Linked DNA regions of Homo sapiens: regions 1, 2, 3 and 5 are each linked to region 4. Evidence: promoter capture Hi-C in human tissues and cell types (Jung and others, 2019). All regions are on one chromosome and are shown on one strand. Each heading gives the region's core, a stretch centred on a gene start or on the middle of the fragment in contact. The rest is flanking DNA. Distances are from core to core; before and after follow the strand shown. Region 1 overlaps LDB2 (LIM domain binding 2). Region 2 has its middle 37 kb from the start of SNORA75B. Region 3 has its middle 57 kb from the start of SNORA75B. Region 4 holds the start of LDB2 (LIM domain binding 2). Region 5 has its middle 59 kb from the start of SNORA75B.

Region 1 (2,700 bases), core at 131-2,630, 270 kb before region 4:
CTAAACGCTTGTAAACTCTGTGTGAATCAGAAATATACGGGTTGCATTACTCTGACTCAATTCATCAGAATGTTGTTTTGCAAGGATTACGTGAATTCCAGGAAGGCCTTGAAAAATAGCATTCTTTCATCTCATGCCCCAAAAGCTCCCAACAGGATGGATTCCCAAAACCCAAGATGTTGCCATTTGACTTAGAACTTCTCCAGGAGAAGCTCACCATCTATTCAGCTCCTACAGAGGGCCCTGGACTGAAGGTACTGATTTTCCAAATTGATAGTGTATTTGCATCAGATCCATCTTCCTATGATTTGGGGATGAGAAAGGTAACTTTTGGGAAAGACCCTTCTCAACTTTTTTTGCCTGACAAAACACTACCCGTCCTCTGGTGAGTTAAATCTTTTTTTTTTTTGTCCTGTACCATTCGAGAAAGCCTCTCTTAAATTTGAGTCACCCGGGGTCACTTCCAAGATGGCCAAATAGCAACAGCTCTGGTCTACAGCTCCCAGCGAGATAGACGCAGAAGATGGGTGATTTCTGCATTTCCAACTGAGGTACCTGGTTCATCTCACTGGGACTGGTTGGACAGTGGGTGCAGCCCATGGAGGGTGAGCCGAAGAAGGGTGGGGTGTCACCTCACCCAGGAAGTGCAAGGGGTCAGGGGATCTCCCTTTCCTATCCAAGGGAAGCCGTGAGTGACTGTACCTGGAGAAGCAGTACACTTCTGCCCAAATACTGCACTTTTCCCATGGTCTCACAACCGGTAGACCAGGAGATCCCCCACCCTGTGCCTGGCTCAGTGGGTCCCATGCCCATGGAGCTTTGCTTGCTGCTAGTGCAGCAGTCCGTGATGGACCTGGGATGCTGAAGCTTGGTTGGGGGAGGGGCATCCGCCATTGCTGAGGCTTGAGTAGGTGGTTCTATGCTCACAGTGTAAACAAAGTGGCAGGGAAGCTCAAACTGGGTAGAGCCCACCACAGATCAGCAAGGCCTACTGCCTCTCTAGATTCCACCTCTGGGGGCAGGGCATATCAGAACAAAAGGCAGCAGACAGCTTCTTCAGACTTAAACGTCCCTGCCTGACAGCTATGAAGAGAGCAGTGTTTCTCCCAGCATGGAGTTCAAGCTCCAAAAATGGACAGACTGCCTCCTCAAGTGGGTCCCTGACCCCCGTGTAGCCTAATTGGGAGACACCTCCCAGTAGGGGCCAACAGACACCTAATACAGATGGGTACCTCTCTGGGATGAAGCTTCCAGAGGAAGGATCAGACAACAATATTTGCTGTTCTGCACCCTCTGCTGGTGATACCCACGCAAACAGGGCCTGGAGTGGACCTCCAGCAAACTCCAGCAGACCTGCAGCTGAGGGGCCTGTCTGTTAGAAGGAAAACTAACAAAGAGAAAGGAATAGCATCAACATCAACAAAAACAGAAGTAGGCTTCAGAAGATTGGTAATAACAAATTTCTCCAAGCTGAAGGAGCATGTTCTAATCCACTGCAAGGGAGCTAAAAACCTTGAAAAAAGGTTAGAAGAATAGCTAACTAGAATAACCAGTGTACAGAAGAGCTTCAATGACCTGGTGGAGCTGAAAACCACAGAACAACAACTTCGTGAAGCATACACAAGCTTCAATAGCCGATTCAATCAAGCGGAAGAAAGGATATCAGTGATTGAAGATCAAATTAATGAAATTGAGTGAGAAGACAAGATTAGAGAAAAAGGAGTGAAAAGAAACAAACAAAACCTCCAAGAAATATGGGACTATGTGAAAAGACCAAATCTACATTTGATTGGTGTACCTGAAAGTGACAGGGAGAATGGAACCAACTTGGAAAACACTCTGCAGGATATTATCCAGGAGAACTTCTCCAACCTAGCAAGGCAGGCCAACATTCAATTTCAGGAAATACAGAGAACACCACAAAGATACTCCCTGAGAAGAGAAACCCCAAAACACATAACTGTCAGATTCACCAAGGTGGAAATGAAGGAAAAAATGTTAAAGGCAGCCAGAGATAAAGGTCGAGTTACCCATAAAGAGAAGCCCAACAGACTAACAGTGATGTCTCTGCAGAAACCCTACAAGCCAGAAGAGAGTGGGGGCCAATATTCAACATTCTCAAAGAAAAGAATTTTCAACCCAGAATTTCATATCCAGCCAAACTAAGCTTCATAAGTGAAAGAGAAATAAAATCCTTTACAGACAAGCAAATGCTGAGAGATTTTGTCACCAGCAGGCCTACCTTATAAGAGCTCCTGAAGAAAGCACTAAACATGGAAAGAAACAACTGGTACCAGCCACTGCAAAACATGCCAAATTGTAAAGACCATCAACGCCGTATAAAGAAACGGCATAAATTAATAGGTGAAAACACCAGCTAGCATCATAAGGATAGGATAAAATTCACACATAACAATATTAACCTTAAATGTAAATGCGCTAAATGCCCCAATTAAAAGACACAGACTGGCAAATTGGATAAAGAGTCGAGACCCATCGGTGTGCTGTATCAGGAGATCCATCTCACATTCAAAGATGCACATAGGCTCAAAGTAAAGGGATGGAGGAAGATCTACCAAGCAAATGGAAAGCCGAAAAAAGCAGGGATTGCAATCCTGGTCTCTGATAAAACAGACTTTAAACCAACAAAGATCAAAAGAGACAAAGAAGGCCATTACATAATGGTAAAGGGATCAATTC
Region 2 (2,707 bases), core at 87-2,586, 380 kb after region 4:
CTTGAACCCAGAAGGTGGAGGTTGTGATGAACTGAGATCACACCATTGCACTCCAGCCTGGGCAACAAGAGCAAAACTCCATCTCAAAAAAAAAAAAAAAAAAAAAGATAAAGGGAACTCTAAATCATGTTCCTGCCCACTGTCCTTCAAGCGTCGCCTCTCTCTGGTGCAGGAAGTACTACACAGGCTTTCTTCATTCTTGTCCACCTGAGTCAGTACACCCTAATGCCTGCTTCATCACTGCTGCCCGGTGGACCCTCTGGCTCCTGAGGCTCGTGCCCTCTCCCGGTCACTTCCCCATGCACAACACCCCTCTGCATTTATTCCCCAGAGTACCACCAACACAAGACAATCGTGTGCTGCAGATTTCTACTAAAGTTTTGCAGACAGCAGAAGGTATTTAGAGCATAAAGCAGAGAACAGCTTCAAACTAAAAATCAGATATCAAATCCCTAGAAATATATTCTCCACTCCCTGCCACAGAGAGTGCCCGATTGGCTTTGTTATTTCTCCTCTTGTCTAGCAGCATGCAAATTTCCTTGTGTTCTTTCATCTCTTCCTACCCTTGACTCCTGGGTTCTGACAACATTTTGTCTTGCCTGCCATAGATATTCAAACTTTGACCTTATTTTGCTGCACAAGTACATTCCAGACACTTATTGACCTCAACTTTGCCATCCAATGTACACCCAGGGTGGAGCAAGGAAGGGGAAGATAGGGGCTTGTCTTCTTCACCTAAAAGACCTACCAGGGAATGTTCCTACAAATTCATCCACCCAAAAGAAAAATATTGCCTTTTACATACAGGGGAATTTGAAGGTTCTTCTCTAAGCTGAGATTCTATGATTTTGTGGTTTTACTTTTTGTCTTTAAATGGCTAAGTGCTTAAGAAACAATGAGCACTAGTCCCCCACGGTCAAGGATGGGAGGACTAAGGCTCACAAGTTTTGAGGATCAAAGATTCCTAGAATACAGCGAGGATTGCCATGCATTTACAAAGCCCCTTCTTCCTTTGTGCATTCGAACAAACCTGAAAATACTCTCATCCCCATTCAATAAACAGAAGCTTAAAATTCAGTAGAAGCAGGAAGTAGTGACAGAAGATGAAAGAGAGTAAAAATGATTCGGAGGAGAAAAAAAAAATACAAGGGAATGAAATGTCCACACCCAAAAAGTTGTGGACTAAATGAGATGAAGGATTTGGGTCCCCGAAATACCACCCTCTCCTTTTGCCTCCCGGTTTGATGCTGGTGTGGAGCTGCGAGCACTTGGGCAGATATTTGCATGCTCTAAGTGTTCCGCTGGGAAAGTGGCAGATATCGAGACAGATGGCTCTAGGAAGTGTGGGTGAGCCTGACGTCAAGTTTATGAGCCAAATGGTGTTTTCTGAGTTCCACCTCTTCAGATCCCATCCATAACAGACCCACTACCTCAAACCATGCCCCTCCCTGAAGCCTCTCCTGCCCCCTTGATCATAACAATCTTTCTTTCCTCTAATAATAATAAATGCTGGTTAAACATGTACTGTTCTGTCAAATATTGTCATTTAGGCCTCATCCGTCAAGGACCCCCTTGAAGGCCACAACAGGGTCTTCCCTCTGTACCGCACTGGCCTGGAATTCCTCCATTTACTCGACACATCCTTATCAAATACCTACTATGTGCCAAGCGCTGTGCTTCGCATGAGGGAAATCAACAGGGGACCAATGAGAAGGTCCTTATCTTCATAAGGATCTCATTCGAGAAAAAAAGAAACAATAAATACATAAATAAAATGAAGAGTCCAGCTCCTGGTTTAAAAAACCTACGTGTGATTTTTCAGGCCCGACCATAGGCAAGTACAAAGGCTTCACCTGGCTGGCTCCATGGGCAACATCTGCCCTTCCCACAGCAGACTTGGCTCACAGCCACTGCATGGCAGGCTCTGAAGGGAATTGGAAAGGACTCAGGCCCCTCTAGCTGGTCCTGCTCTTCACATATTTGTAACCCTAGGCCCAGAGCCTTCATTCCTGGGTTTCTTTGTCCAAGACCTTGGGCAGAGGTCCTCTGCAGACATCTCTGCCAAGTCCTACTTATGGTGAAAAGAACGGAAAAACCTGGAAGACCATTTTTCCCACTCCGACTCAGTACTCAGTACTTTTCCACTCCTGGCTCTCAGCCCTGATCCTCCCCAACCCCAGAGTCCATAAACTGCTCCCTCTACCCCACACCTGCTCTGACCCACCTGACCTCAGCCTGTGCACTGTGCCATGGGCAGCAGGGGAAATCTTACTGCGTGGGTTTAGCCCCTTGCTTGTACCATAGCAGTTAGTGAATAAAGGCTGTGCTGGTACTTCCATGTCAACCCCCTGATGCTTCATCAGCTACTCCTACACCTGATAGCTCAGCCCTCTCTCCAGCTCAGCTGAGCTCCTGAGAAAAAATAACAAATCGTCACATAGAATAAGATCTTAAATGGAATTTCTGGTGTTGTCTTAGAATTTTGGCTGAAGCCCAAAGCTGAGAACAATAGATGATAAATAAAACCCTCTCATTCCTCCTCCAGCAAACTGTAACTAAATATGGAAAGGTGTAGACTACCCATTCAGGAAGTCCTGTGACCCACAGCCCACCTCCAATACCCTAGTCTGTATGTATGAAGGAAGCCCAGAGATGAAGGAAGAGAGAATCTCAGGCAAGTGGTGAGGGGGGTTCTCTCCCTGGTGCT
Region 3 (2,756 bases), core at 185-2,684, 480 kb after region 4:
CTATTCACAGGCAATGATTTAACAGGGAAGGAGTTTTATTTAATAAAGCAGAAATGTTGAACATCAGGAGCTGCCAGGACTGGATCTTAAAAGATAAACAAAGCAGAAACCCTGGGCTTCGTCAGCTTCACCTGGAAAAATGAGACAAGGACAACTCCACGCTTCCCAACCAACCACCAAACCTGGGATATGCTTGTTAGAGAGAGGTTTCAGCAATTTGGCACTCACTCCTCCCTCCCTTCCCTACAGAGGAAGCTGTCCACACAAGCTGCAAAGAGGAAGCCAAGGGCCAAATTACAAAGAGAAGAAAAAGCACCTGGAAACACATACCACATGCTCAAGTAAATGCTGGATTTAATATATGGAAAGACCCAAAGTCTAAAGAAGTCAGTTGCCCTGAACCTCGTATAGCAGGATCTGTGGGGCATAGCATCCCTCTAACTTAGCGTCTAAGTTAGATGCTAAGCGTCTAAGTTAGCATCTAAGTTAGCGTCTAAGTTAGACACTTTGGTGTGGGAACCAAAGCAGAATCAAAAAAGAGGCAGGCCTGCCTAGGTACTCTTGCCACCTGGAAGCCAGATGCACAAAGAGAGCAATTCCACCATGGGATGCTGCTGCCAATGAGTCCTGGCCAAGGGTGACTGTATTATGTTCTCACACTGCTAATAAAGACGTACACAAGACTGGGTAATTTATAAAGGAAAGAGGTTTAATGGACTCACAGTTCCATATGGCTAGGGAGGCCTTACAATCATGGTAGAAAATGAAGGAAAAGCAAAGGGACATCTTACATGGCAGCAGGCAAGAGAGCTTGTGCCAGGGAACTCCCATTTATATAACCGTCAGATCTCATAAGACTTATTCATGAGAACAGTATGGGTGAAACTGTCCCCATGATTCAGCTATCTCCCATGGCCCCACCCTTGACATGTGAGGATTATTACAATTCAAGGTGAGATTTGAGTGGGGACACAGCCAAACCATATCAGCGGCCTCATGGTAGACAATGGATCAATCAGAGCTGCCCTCGGAGAGTGGACACAGTCCCCCTTCCTTTCAGGCACTATACTCTTACCAGTCAGACATTAACTTTGCCCAATTGAGCACTTAGGCTCTACCCAATTAGAACAGCAACTCCATTCTTAGAGAAAATGAGTGAAGGTTTCTGCTGCAACTATTGCAATTATTATGACAAATATAATCAAGCACTAATGAGAAATCAGAGGAGGTAGTATAATGAAGGGCAATTACATATTATGCAACATTGAATTAATGTGAAAGTATATGGTATAAAAATATTAATGAAGTCCCCATCTATGCACAAAATTCAAAATTAGGCAATTTCCAAAACATTGTTTAGTTCATCAGCAACTATTATTTTCAGTGCTGTTATGCAAAGTGAATTGTAAGCAGTGTTCATGTTACTACCACTTGAGCCGGTAAACAGAAACCCACCATCAGAAATACTTTTATTGGGTCTGTGAGAAAATTCATCTTCAATTATGTTAGCTTTGAATTATGTAAATTCTTTAAAAATCTATCCTTCACATAAACTGTAATCTCTGTCCATGAGTGCAGGGGAAAGGCATTTCAGAAAAAGCTAAGTATCATTCATAAACACATAGAAGCAAGAAAGAAAGAAAGAAGGAGGGAAGGAGAAAGGAAAGGAAAACAGAAAGGAAGAAAGGAAGGAAGAGGGTTTAAAATAGTCAAGAAACAGTAGGAAGTGGAGGAGCAGGGAATGAAGCTAAAAAACATTGGTTGCAAACCAATAATGCCCAAAAGCCTGGCCTCAATTCAGTATCAGGCCATGATGGAATTTTCATAAATCCACAGTGAAATGAGAAAAACCAGCATGGCATTTTCCACAAAGCTAAATACGTAAGATATTTATATAATTGTTTCAAATGACCTTTTATTATGAGACCACATCCTCTGTAATTTGTTAGCAATAAAATTTCCTATCTGTACACCTACTATGTACCCACAAAAATTAAAAATTTAAAACTTGTTTTAAAAATAAAATACAGTATCTGTTATGAAATGGTGGCAATGGCATATGACAGATGTCATACAGAGTTATTTTTATACATTGTTTTTTGACAAAATTAAAATTGACAATCTTATATAGATCCACAATTTATTTTTTGGAAATATTACTGCTCATAAAATGAAAGAGACTGGGAACCACAGTCCTATGGGAAGAAATTTGCATAATTGAATAAGGCACCAGATTAAGCACCATGGAAATAATTCTAGATGTTGATTATTAAATGTGTTTAAATGTACATCAATAATTTAAAAGAAAGCACTACAAGACCATAAATAGTATGCAAGTGTTTCAAACTACTAGAGGGAAAAAAATGTAACAAAAAAGCCTAATAAATTCAACAAAGATCAAAATAGAAAAACACAAATAAAACATGAAATAAATAAGATGGCAAGAATAAGTCCAAACATACCATTAATCATGACAAATACATCTGGGTTATATTTTCCACACAGAAACTCCCAGATTGGTCATGAAAACCAAACCAAATCAAACAAATAAAAACTGTCTGCATGATGTTCATAGGAATCACATTAAAATAAGAAATTTAAATAAGGTGACAGTGGAAGATAAATCAGACAAATGTTAGCTACTATTCCCCAATCTGTCCTCCTCAAAGAAAACAGTGACTCAATATTAATTTCAAATGAAATAAAATTCAAAGGAGTGGAACATTAAATGAGATGCAAGAAATTTTTACGTTGAC
Region 4 (2,759 bases), core at 169-2,668:
AAGTCAATCTTCAATCTAAAATTCCACCAGAGCTATTCCCTAAAAGCTCTTTGGCATAAATCTTGTGGTATTTATACTCTGCAGAGAAGACTAAATTCCTAGCAATTTCCACTTCCTAAAGTGACTTTGGTGCACCTATAACAAACTCCTTTTCCGAACACTTCCACACAAAGCCCCAACTTACAGGCAGATGGACAATCCAGCAGCAAGACCTGCCAGCTGAGCTAGCACAGAGAAAAAGTCAACTGACATAAAATATTTAAATTGCAGGAGGCGAGTCTGGAGTTTTGCATTTAAAAAGTTCTGAAAGTCCTGTTCTCTCTGCTCCCAGAGTTGCTGGCTGCCTAGGAGGCTGAGTCTCCCTCTCTCAGGCACAAGATCTCAAATATGCAAAAACTAGAGCTGACTTGAAAGCTGAACCAGCTCCTGTCCTAAGGTAGAGTGATAGGGGGGCACGGCCGACAGCAATAGGAGAAAGTCTAGAGTCCCCTTGCCCCAAGCAACTGGTTTCTGATTTTAACACTGAAATATACAAACATGTGTCCCTCCAGGGCTAGTTCTGAGAAGTAGGCAGGTTTACTCTTCTGCCCCTTTTTACCTCGATTTTGGTGACTCTGAAAAGTAAATACAGGTCAAAGCAGACTTCCTCTAGGATTTGTAAAAAAGAAAATATATATATATATATATATATATATATATATATATATATATACACATATGTATATATATATATATATATATATATATACACATATGTATATATATATATAGCCAGATGCAAACAATCACAAAATTCCTTGGAATTATATCTCAAGAAACACCAACAGGACTGACTCAGAGCCTGTAAAACACCAGAGTTCTGGAAGAGCAACATTTCTGGAAACCCGGCATGTGAATCAAGTGCTGGGTTGTCTCAAGATTCCGGCAGAAACTGTCCTCTGCTACAAGAGTTGCTGTGCCTGGAAACCCAGCGTCCAAACTCGTGGATTCATCCTGGCGCTCATTTCCACGTACGTGGTAGTATCAAGTGGGACACTTCCCATAGAATTCAGCCAGAAACCCTAGGAAAAGCTCATGCATAGCTTAACAAAAATACACAAACACATCCCCAAGGTTGAAGTACTTACCTCTGTGCGAGACTGCAGTCTCTTGTTCATCTCATAGATTCGGTACTCTGGCTGTACCATGTATGGTGTATGCCTCCTATAAAATGGGCCGAAAGGAGAAGAATAGAAGGGGTCATGTGGTGTGCTGGACATCTTGCCTGCTTTTCGAAAATCAAGCTAAACAGAGTATCAGTAACGTCCATGCAGAGCACATGGGCTGTGTTCTTCCCAGTACAAAGTAGACGCACGCACACACGCTCACACACACACAGAGGCAGGCAGGCAGGCAGGCTGAACACGCTGGCTGGGAACTGCTGTCGGAGCCCTCTATAGCAGGAGAGGAGAGGGAGAGGAGAGGAGGGAGGGAAAGAGGGAGGGAGGGAGGGAGCACGGGAGAGGAGGGAGAGGGAGAGAGCAGGAGCTCCAGAGAGGGAGGGAGGTTGGTATGGAGGAAGGGAGGGAAGAAGGGAGGGAGGGAGGGAGGGAGGAGGGAGGGAGGGAGGGGGAGAGAGAGAGAGAGAGAGAGAGAGAGAGAGAGAGAGAGAGAGAGAGAGAGAGAGAGAGAGAGAGGAGCTGGATAGCTTTAGGCACCACTGCTTGTTTTTAAAGAAGCAGTTTGTGGAGAGGTCATTTCCTGTCCACATTGTAGACTAGTTCACAAATATAATTCTCCTCACAGTCTGACAAGAGGTCTAAGGTTTGGTTTTAATTTTTTTCCTCCAGCCAGGACCCTTCACAACCTGATTGCTAAGCTTGTTAGCATAGAGGTGGTCTAACCGCTACATGAGCCGCTCACCCCTGACAACCACACTGTTGTAATGTATCAGAAATGTTGATTACTACAAAATACAGAAACACGGGCACTGTGGTGCCCCGAATTGGGACCGGTGATTCACTCACATGCAGAGATTTATTTCAGCACTAATCTCCCTATGTAGTTTTGCTTTACTTGCTGTTGTTCCAAGGGCTGTTATATTCTTTGCCCTCCACTCCATCTCACTCCCATCTCTCCCCACTCACCCCTCTTCCCAGCCACCTCCCTCTTCTCCAAAGACTTCATTCAGGCCCTTAAGGTGCCTGGGCATTTTCAGGTAAAAACAGTCGTTCTGAATGTGGAAGGTATAAAATACACTTAAGGAGAGCAATGGTCTTTTTTCCCAGGAAGGAAAAACAAACAAACAAACAAACAAAAAACCCAAACAGACCTCCCAATAAGACAGGAAAAGCAAAGAAGGAGAAAACTGCCACAAAAATGACCACGGAAAATTTGGTTGAGAAGGAAATTGCAAATAATTGAATGGATCATCCCCAGATAACATGTCCAACTCTTATGGAGACAAAGTCTGTATTTTCCAAGATTGGTCAAGTAAACAAATATTTTCCCAACTGTGGTATATGATAACCATAAGAAATCCCAACAGCCCATGGAAGGGGAAAATCTCTATAGAGAATTAAACAATCTATAAAATAATCAAATTCTGCTAGAACCCACTATAACCAGAGATACGACACTTAAACAAAGCCCAGCCACACAAAATTTAAATGTATTGAGCTAACACCTAGGTAGGTCAGTGGTATTAAGGAAATAAAGCAAAGGACCACCAAAAAGCATAATGAATTCAAGACCTGAATGCAAATGCATGCAAATGAGAC
Region 5 (2,700 bases), core at 77-2,576, 360 kb after region 4:
TTATTCTGCAGCCACAGAAAAAATTACTATGAACATAGAGCTTAAAACATCATCCACTCATCATCTCAGTTTCCAGGGATCAGGAGTCCAGGCCTGACTCAGCATGGTCCTACTCAGGGTCTCCCAAGACTGTAATCAAGGGGTCATCTGAGCCAATTTCCTATCTGGAGGCTTGACTGAGAAGAATTCACTTCCAAGCCCACTCATGGTTGTTGGCAGAATTCATTTCCTTGCAGATGCATGGCTGAGGCCCATGTTTTTTTGTTTGCTGTCAGCCAGCGATCACTCTTAGTTCTAAAGCCACCCTCAGTTCCTTGCCATGTGGCCCCGTCCATAGGCCCTCCTACAAATTGGCAGATCACTTCTTCAAAGCCAGCAGGTTTATCTCTCACTCCTGTCTGCTAGGGCAGAGTCCAGTGTAATGTAGCACAACAATGGGAGTGACTGTCATATCTCCTTTGTCATATTCTATGGTCTAGAAGCTAGTCACAGGCTCCAACCACACTCAAGGGGAGGTATGACTCATTGGGGGCAACCTTAGAGTGTGTCCACCACACACGGTTTCTTTCCTTTCTCCCTCCCTCCCTTCTTTCTTTACTTCCTTTCTTCCACATGTAGATGGTCTGCTATGTGCAAATCATATTACCTTAAGTCAAACAAAAATGATTAAAGCAAGCCCCTTGTCTTGGCGCAGGCTGCTACAACAGACTATCATACCCTGGGTGGCTTAAACAACAGACATTTATTTCTCACAGTTCTGGAGGCCAGAAATTGAGGTCAGGATGCCTACATGGTCAGGTTCAGGTGAGGACTCTCTCTAGTGTTCAGACAGCCGTCTTCTCAGTGTATCCTCACATGATAGAGAACAAAGCAGAGAGAATCATTAACCTCTCCTGTTTTTCTTCTAAGGGCACTAATCCCATTCACGAAGTCTCCACTCTTGTGACCTAATTATTTCCCAAAGGCCCCACCTCCTGGTACCATTGCATTCGGTGTTGGGATTTCAACATATGAATTTGGGGGAGACACAAAAATTCAGTCCATAGCACCCCTATGTTTCAAAAGCTCATACACTAGTGGAAGAGACAGTCCTGTAAACAGCTACAGTATAGCTTGTAATCAACAATGGCCTATAGTCATGTACAAGCCCCAGCCCAGGACCAGGAGCCCTAATTTTCCACGACAAAGGCAGGAAAATTCATGGAGGAGGTGCCATTTGATAGGCTTTTGAAAGAGGAGTGGAAGCCCCACATGTTTCCACAGTGCTTTACCTGTGTCAGGCATTCAGCAAATGTGTGTGTAATAAAAAGCTCAAGAATGTGATCGAAGAACTAATTTTACAAATGAGCAGAGTAAAGCCTTGGGGAAAACACCTGACATCACAGCAATTTCAACATAATAATTAGTGCATGGTCACATGTTGAGTGGCCAAGAACTTGAAATTCTTCAAAAATCAATCACTTCATTCCGTACCTAAGAAGCAGCTGAGATGACCAAAAAGGACAGGACAGGAGAATGCAGTCTCAGAGCCAAGAAAAGGTGAGTGGAAGGACCAGAGTTCACTGCAACAGATTGGAGAAGAAAGAAGACAGAGCTGTCTGATGGCTGCACTCAGACAGGTGGTTCTGGACCAGTGAAATGCAGACAGTCATCCACTTCCAAAGTTTCTCCTTTTTTTTTTTTTTTTTTGATATGGAGTCTTGCTCCATCACCCAGGCTGGAATGCGTGGTGCAATCTCGGCTCACTGCAACCTCTGCCTCCCAAGTTCAAGTGATTCTCACACCTCAGCCTCCCTAGAGAAGCTGAATTACAGGTGCATGCCACCATGCCTAATTATTTTTTATTTTTAGTAGATGTGGGGTTTTACCATGTTGGCCAGGCTGGTCTCAAACTCCTGATCACTTCAAGTGATCCATCTGTTCAGCCTCCCAAAGTGCTGGGATTACAGGCATGAGCCATCGTGCCAGCCCACTTCTAAAGTTTCTACTTTCAGACAACCTGCCTTTTCACACATCACATACCAACACCATAAAGTGACTTTCGTATACCCAGGAAAGACTTTCTTCTATGAGCTGACAAATGAACATTTTGAACTATTTAATAGTAGTACCCATCAAGTTCCTTTCTGACAGTGTTATCACCTTGGGCTGTATAATAGTGTTCAATGCAGAATATGAATATATTACTGGAAGGGTCTTTAAACAGGGTTCTGGGGGTCCCAGAGAGATGCCTCTAAGACCTTCGTATTCCTGTCTCAATTTTAATCCAAGTTGGTCTACTTATTTTATTATTTGTATAAATTTAAGGGGTACAGGTGCAATTTTGTTATGTGAATATATTGCATAATGGTGAAATCTGGACTTTCAGTGTAACCATCACCTGAATCATGTACACTGTGCCCATTAAATTTCTCATCCTTCACCTATCCCACCCTTCTACACTTCTGAGTCTCTAATGTCTATTATTCCACACTTTATGTCCATGTATACACATTATTTAGCTCTCACTTATAAGTGAGAACATGTGGCATTTGGTTTTCTGTTCCTGCATTAATTTATTTAGAATAATGGCCTCTAGCTGCATCCATGTTGCTGCAAAGAAAATAATTTCATTCTTTTTATGGCTGAGTAATATTCCATGGTGTGTGAGTATCTATACACCATATTTTCTTTATCTAATCCTCCATCGATGGACACTTG

The links. The method cuts DNA at HindIII sites, captures the fragments that hold promoters and counts their contacts. A contact is called where the count stands out against the background at its distance.
Region 1: a fragment that was not itself captured here is called in contact with the fragment with the promoter of LDB2 in region 4 in 1 of the 25 tissues and cell types used here (dorsolateral prefrontal cortex).
Region 2: a fragment that was not itself captured here is called in contact with the fragment with the promoter of LDB2 in region 4 in 2 of the 25 tissues and cell types used here (H1 embryonic stem cells and lymphoblastoid cells).
Region 3: a contact is called between a fragment that was not itself captured here and the fragment with the promoter of LDB2 in region 4, in 1 of the 25 tissues and cell types used here (heart left ventricle).
Region 5: a contact is called between a fragment that was not itself captured here and the fragment with the promoter of LDB2 in region 4, in 1 of the 25 tissues and cell types used here (lymphoblastoid cells).

What each region holds. Positions count from the first base shown.
Region 1 is chr4:16,628,173-16,630,872 of GRCh38, forward strand. The region is part of intron 2 of LDB2 (LIM domain binding 2); the gene reads right to left. Among named protein-coding and RNA genes, the nearest start is that of LDB2, 270 kb to the right of the region's middle. The HindIII fragment of the contact is 3,457 bases long and covers 1-2,700 here.
Region 2 is chr4:17,282,140-17,284,846 of GRCh38, forward strand. No RefSeq gene overlaps it. Among named protein-coding and RNA genes, the nearest start is that of SNORA75B, 37 kb to the right of the region's middle. RefSeq lists an enhancer at 2,374-2,707. The HindIII fragment of the contact is 5,072 bases long and covers 1-2,707 here.
Region 3 is chr4:17,376,723-17,379,478 of GRCh38, forward strand. No RefSeq gene overlaps it. Among named protein-coding and RNA genes, the nearest start is that of SNORA75B, 57 kb to the left of the region's middle. The HindIII fragment of the contact is 5,246 bases long and covers 1-2,756 here.
Region 4 is chr4:16,897,227-16,899,985 of GRCh38, forward strand. LDB2 (LIM domain binding 2) reads right to left here and starts at 1,419. Exons shown (of 8, transcript NM_001290.5): 1 at 1,128-1,419. The coding sequence starts at 1,259. The HindIII fragment of the contact is 10,471 bases long and covers 1-2,759 here.
Region 5 is chr4:17,260,211-17,262,910 of GRCh38, forward strand. No RefSeq gene overlaps it. Among named protein-coding and RNA genes, the nearest start is that of SNORA75B, 59 kb to the right of the region's middle. The HindIII fragment of the contact is 4,251 bases long and covers 1-2,700 here.